Regions from separate parts of the Homo sapiens genome. Here region 1 is linked to region 2. Evidence: promoter capture Hi-C in 16 types of primary human blood cells and fetal thymus (Javierre and others, 2016). All regions are on one chromosome and are shown on one strand. Each heading gives the region's core, a stretch centred on a gene start or on the middle of the fragment in contact. The rest is flanking DNA. Distances are from core to core; before and after follow the strand shown. Region 1 has its middle 5.4 kb from the start of C9orf163. Region 2 holds the start of ABCA2 (ATP binding cassette subfamily A member 2).

Region 1 (2,700 bases), core at 68-2,567, 540 kb before region 2:
GGCACATAGCAGGTCTCAGAGAACATTTTTCTGGAATCATTGAGCCAAGTACTTACCATGTAAGGTGCTAAAAAGCACTAGGAATGAAGCAGAAAGCTCAAGGCTGATGTCGATGTCACAGTAACCTGGGACCGCAGGCCCCCAGGGCCACAGGAGGAACTGCTGGCTGTCCTTGAGCTGAGGCAGGGTCTTGGTAAGCTCACGAGTCCTCTATCCCCAAACCATGCACAGATGTCTGCTGAGTCCCTGCTGTACCCCAGGCACTGCTAGGAGCTGGGCTGTGGCCGTGAGACAGACAAGCCCAGACTCTGCCTCCGGGGAACATGGATGCTGGCTGGCCACAGAGGTGCCCATACAGAGGGCACCATGCAGTGTCTGCTGGGGACAGGCAGGAGGAGAAGGAGCATTTCTGGCTGAAGTGAACAGTCCACATGAGGCTTCTGCGGGGTGAGCGGCCAGTGGGCGTAGGCTAGTGTGGACTCTGTAGGCTTGCTAAGAGACCCGCAGGTGGTGTCTGGAAGTATAGGAAGCTTCCAGAGGCTTTTCAGCCAGGAGCGATGCAACCAGTTTGGGCCCCAAAGGCTCTCCAGGTTAGGGTTCGAGCTAGGGGCTAGGGAGAGCCAGGGCCCAGGAGGCAGCCTTGGGTGGCCTAGGAGAAAGAGGCGCTGAACCCAGGAGAGTCCCCAAGAACCCGGGAGAGTCCCCGAGGGCACAACCCCAGCACAGCACGGGGTTCACACACAGCAGGCAGGAGACAGTCCTGAGCATTGAGTGATGATTTAAGTGGTGGACATGGACTTGGTGGCCTGGGGACTGTAGATAGGGAAGAGAAAAGGGCCCGGGTGGAGCTGGGAAGAGCTCCAGTATTCGATGCCAGGCCAGTCGTGGCATTAACTCCTGGCAAAGTATCCGATGCCAGGCTGGCCATGGTATTGACTCCTGGCAAAGTGGCCCAACAACCCCCTTCTCCCCTCTGAGCAGCCGTCTCCCTGTCTGAAAAGTCACCAGGCTGGATGGCATCAACTCTACAGGCCTTCCTGCTCCTCTGAGGGCAGGTGACTCCTCGTGGTTTGACACGGACCGGGAATCACATAGCCCTGGCTCAGTGAATGGGCGAACTTGGCTAAGTCGCCTAACCTCTTTGAGCCCCAGCTTCCTCATGTGTAAAACAGGATAATAGCAGTGTCGCGGGGGATGGCCCTGGGCGTGGGGTGAGGGCCATTTCTGCCCTGTGGTCACTCGGGAGGACCTGTGGGGCGCTGGCAGAGCAGTGCCACCAGGGGGAGGCAGAGAGCCGCCTCTGAGTCGGCCAAAGTAACAGGTGCACGCTTGCCAGGTGAGGTTGCTCCCATCTGTCGTCTCAGCATTTTGGGAGGCCAAAGTGGGAGGATCACTTGAACCTAGGGGTTTGAGACCAGCCTGGGCAACATAGCAAGATTCCATCTCCACAAAAAGAAAAAAAAGTAAAGTTATACACTTTTCTTTTTTTTTTTTGAGACCGAGTCTCACTGTATCCCCCAGGCTGGAGTGCAGTGGTGCAATCTCAGCTCACTGCAACCTCCTCCTTCCGAATTCAAGCAATTCTCCTGCCTCAGCCCCCCCAAGTAGCTGAGATTCTAGGTGCCCACCATGGTGCCCAGCTAATTTTTGTATTTTTAGTGGAGAGGGGGGTTTCACCAGTTGACCAGGCTGGTGTGGAACTCCTGACCACAGGTGATCCTCTCGCCTCGGCCTCCCGAAGTGCTGGGATGACAGGTGTGAGCCACCACGCCTGGCCGTAGTTATAACTTTTCTAAGGTTCATTTTATTAAATGGAAAAATGCCAAACAGAACGACAAAGGCTGTGGTAGAATGTGCACGTTTGTGTGGACCCAGGGCACATTTTCACCAGAAAATCCCGTGCGATAGAGTGGAAGATATACCAAAAGCCACAGCAAATATCACGCGTGACTCCGCAGAAAATTATAGATTCCTAACAAACACTGAGAGTGTGTCCTGTGCTGTAAGGTCCAGGGATGGGCCACAAGTTCAAGGTTGTGTGAAGAACAACGGAAACCCACCTCTGAGGCCCTGGGCACCTGGCACCTGTCGTGTTGGGCATGAATAAAGCTTCGCAGCTCAGTCCTGCAATCTCCATGAGCCTAGACTTGTCCATCTTAAAATGTAGACGGTTAGGACACCTGCTGAAGGGGCCGCCAGGCTTAACTGTGCCAACACGGCATGCAGGTGGAGAACAAAGAATGCGATTGAAAACCTCCTAACGATAACAAGAGCTGTTCCCTTTCTGAGCCCTCACCCCATGCCCAGCGTGCACCAGCAGCTCACCATCGCAGGCCCAGGGCCAGCACCCAGGTCCCCACTTGACCCACGAGGACACTGAGGTACAGCAACAGCCAGGACAGCAGCCGCCAGGTGGAAAGCAAAGACACAAAGCAGCCAGATCGGGAGTCACGTCGGGGCAGGCGACTGAGGCGCCACCCAGCCACCTTCAAGATGCAGATTGAAGAACAGCCTTTCCCAAAGCTCGCTCACTCACTGACCCTGCGTCTTCGTCTGCAAAGCCTGAGTAACGTGGGAGGCCCTGCAACGCCCCCTCTGAGAGACCTCCACTAACGCCAGCACTTTTTTTTTTTTTTTTTTTTTTTTTTTTTTTTTTTGTGAGAGTGTCTTGCTCTGTCGCCCAGGCTGGAGTGCAGAGGC
Region 2 (2,700 bases), core at 99-2,598:
CCCCACTCAGCCAGCTCCAGGTGCCTGGCCAGGGCATGTACCTAACCCAGGCTCCCCGCCAAGGCCAGGTGCCCAGGGGAATTCTGCCAGCCATGGTGATGATGGCCACCCCAGCTGACTGCAGCCTGGGTTTCCTGCAGTGCATGTTGAAAGATAAACAGGCACGGACTGGTGCAGCCCAAGGGGTCCCGCCCGGGCCCTGGCTGGGCAAGAGGATGTCTGCCTTAGGCCCCCACCTGCTCTGAGCCCTGGCCTGGACAATCCCAAGGGCCTTCAGAAACCTAAGCTGGTCCAGGCCTGTGGCCTGGGAGGTGTCCCTTCCCTTCCCAGGCTGGAGCCAAGCTGGCCAGCTGGGGGTATGGCAGGACACCCATATCCCCAAGCCCCTCGCTCCACGAAGGACTTCTGTCCCTGACAGCCATGTGTCCTGCACCCTCAGGTCCACTGGCTGCCCAGGCAGTGCTGGGAAAGCCGGGGTTCACAGCTCCAAACAGTAGACCCAGCCCCCAGAGCAGGTGGGGGGACCAGGAGGCAACAGAGTGGATCAGGCTCGGGGAGAACTGACCCCAAAGGACAAATGGGTGCAGAGATTCAGGCTGGCCAAGGCTGGCACAAGGACATTCCCAGTGGCGAGAGCATGAGCAAGGGTCACGGATGTGCCAGGAGGGGAGGCGGAGAGATGCCTGGGACCAACCTCTATGGCAGGCCGCGGCCCAAGGGCAGGGGAGGGGTGGACGGAGGGAAGGGACAGGGTCTCCTCCGGGACCCCAGGGAGGCTGGGCCCAAGGACCATGGAGCCTCGCAGCTGAATGGAGCCCCCCAGGCCTGCCTTCTGTCCTGGGAACCAGGGCCTCCCTCGAGCCAGAGTCCTGAGCGCCGCTTGCCCCCCGCCCACAGCGGCCCCAGCGAGCGCGCTGCAGAGGGCGCGGGTGCCGTGACTCAGCCGAGCACCGCGATGTCAGCGGACGCGGGACCGGACTGGACACGACCGAGCCACCTCCCCGGAGGCCGCAGCGCCGGCAGGCGAGGGCAGGGCCCGGCGGGGAGGGGGCTCGGGCCCGCGCCGCCCCCAGCGCCCGCCGGGGTCTGCGCGCGCCCGGCCGTCCGCACGTGCGCGCGGGGAGCGCGCCTCTGGCCGCGGTGCGCGCGGCCTCGGGCTGAGGGCGGGCGCGTGGGGTGGGCTCACCGGGCTCCGGCGTTTGAGCGTCACGTTCTTCCAGAGCAGCAGCTGCAGCTGGTGCAGGAAGCCCATGGCGGGGCCACGCTCCGCCGCCTCAGCGCCGCGGCCCGCTCCTCTGCGCGCCCCGCCGGGCCCCGCAGCCCGCCGCGCCGCTGGGCATCGCCCGCGCGGGGGCGGGGCGCTCGGGCGTCCGGGACCCGATCCGCGCTGGCTCCGCCCCGGCGGCCGCGGCGACAGCGACTCTGCCCGCGCCCCGCCCGCCCCCGCTTAAAGGCGCCGCGCTCCGTCCGCGCCCGCCAGGAGGCGCCCGCCGCCCGCGCCGCGCCCGGGACCGACCCGGGCCCGAGACCCTGCGCGCGCCGCCGCCGGGAAGCCTCCGGGCCGCCCCTCGCCGGGCGTCACGCGACGCGCCCACATCGAATCCGAGACCCCGGCTTAGCCTTCGTAGGCCGGGGGACCCTCGGGCGCTGCGCTCTTCTCCCAGAGGCATCCGGCTGCGCCCACCGCGCTGGCGACTCTGCAGAGGCGCCCCAAGCCTTCACTGTCCCCGGGGCGCGCCGAGCGGACGCTGGCGAGGGGCCAGCTCACCCCCGTAAGGGTCTCCTGTGTGCTTTGTAAACCAGCACTTGGAGTCCAGGTGGTGCCCACCTGGAAGGGAGGCAGGGCGGCCAGGTGGGTCCGTCCCGCGATTCCGAGCAGCCAGCGGAAGGGGGGAAACTCGAGGCCCCAGGAACGCTCGCCGTGAGCGGAGCAGGCAGGGGACCGAGGCGGCCCCTGCTGCACGCGGCTCGTTTTTCTCCCCATATTCGGGCGAGTCTGGTCTCTGCACAGGGAGTTCGGGATCAGGCGGTTCTGCGGCTGTGGCTTGGCACCTGCTGGGGCGCCCCGGGAGGTGGGGCAGTTCCTCCGCGTGGCCTGTAGAGAGCGACAGAGGACAGGCTGACCCCATGGGTGGCTCTGACGGCGCTTCCCAGACTCAGTTTCCCCCCTGTGAATGGGGTGGAGTAGCGCTGTGTGGTGTCCAGTGTCAGGGCGCACATAGAAGGCGCATCCTCAAGTGAATGAAGACCTCCGAGGCCACAGCTCCCCACTCCTCCCAGCTCCTTTGCAGCAGGAAGGTGACCCTGGGCTAGTGAGTGAGGGATCAGCTTCCCACCCCAGCCCGCAGCCTCAAGGCACTTGCTTTTCTCTGCTCAGTCCACAGGGCTGGGTCAGGGCAGGAAGCTACCAGCAGGTCTTTCCCACAAGCCACAGCCATGGGTGAGGGGGGCTTCCTGCCCTCAACCTGCCCACCCCTACCTGGGGTAGGGACAAGCCCTGTGCCCCAGCCCCGGGGGCTTAGCCTGTTGGGGCCCTGGTCAGCACCACCCGTGGGTTGGCCTCTCTCCTCCTCGCCCCACTCTCCACCGTCCACTACAGGGGCTCCCTGGCTGCAGCCGCATCCCCAGTGCCTCCCCAGCACTGGCCACCAGAGGGAGCTACAAGGCACAGGTCAGACCCTGTCACCCCAGACACCCTCC

The links. The method cuts DNA at HindIII sites, captures the fragments that hold promoters and counts their contacts. A CHiCAGO score of 5 or more calls a contact.
Region 1: a fragment that was not itself captured here is called in contact with the fragment with the promoter of ABCA2 in region 2 in 1 of 17 cell types (total CD8 T cells); the score reaches 5.1 in total CD8 T cells.

What each region holds. Positions count from the first base shown.
Region 1 is chr9:136,487,533-136,490,232 of GRCh38, forward strand. No RefSeq gene overlaps it. Among named protein-coding and RNA genes, the nearest start is that of C9orf163, 5.4 kb to the left of the region's middle. RefSeq lists a silencer at 1,329-1,378. The HindIII fragment of the contact is 1,579 bases long and covers 529-2,107 here.
Region 2 is chr9:137,026,889-137,029,588 of GRCh38, forward strand. It overlaps ABCA2 (ATP binding cassette subfamily A member 2), which reads right to left and starts at 1,349. Exons shown (of 49, transcript NM_001606.5): 1 at 1,187-1,349. The coding sequence starts at 1,252. It overlaps LINC02908 (long intergenic non-protein coding RNA 2908), which reads left to right and starts at 576. Exons shown (of 3, transcript NR_171031.1): 1 at 576-1,023. RefSeq lists a silencer at 1,427-1,606 and an enhancer at 1,490-2,234. The HindIII fragment of the contact is 3,387 bases long and covers 1-2,700 here.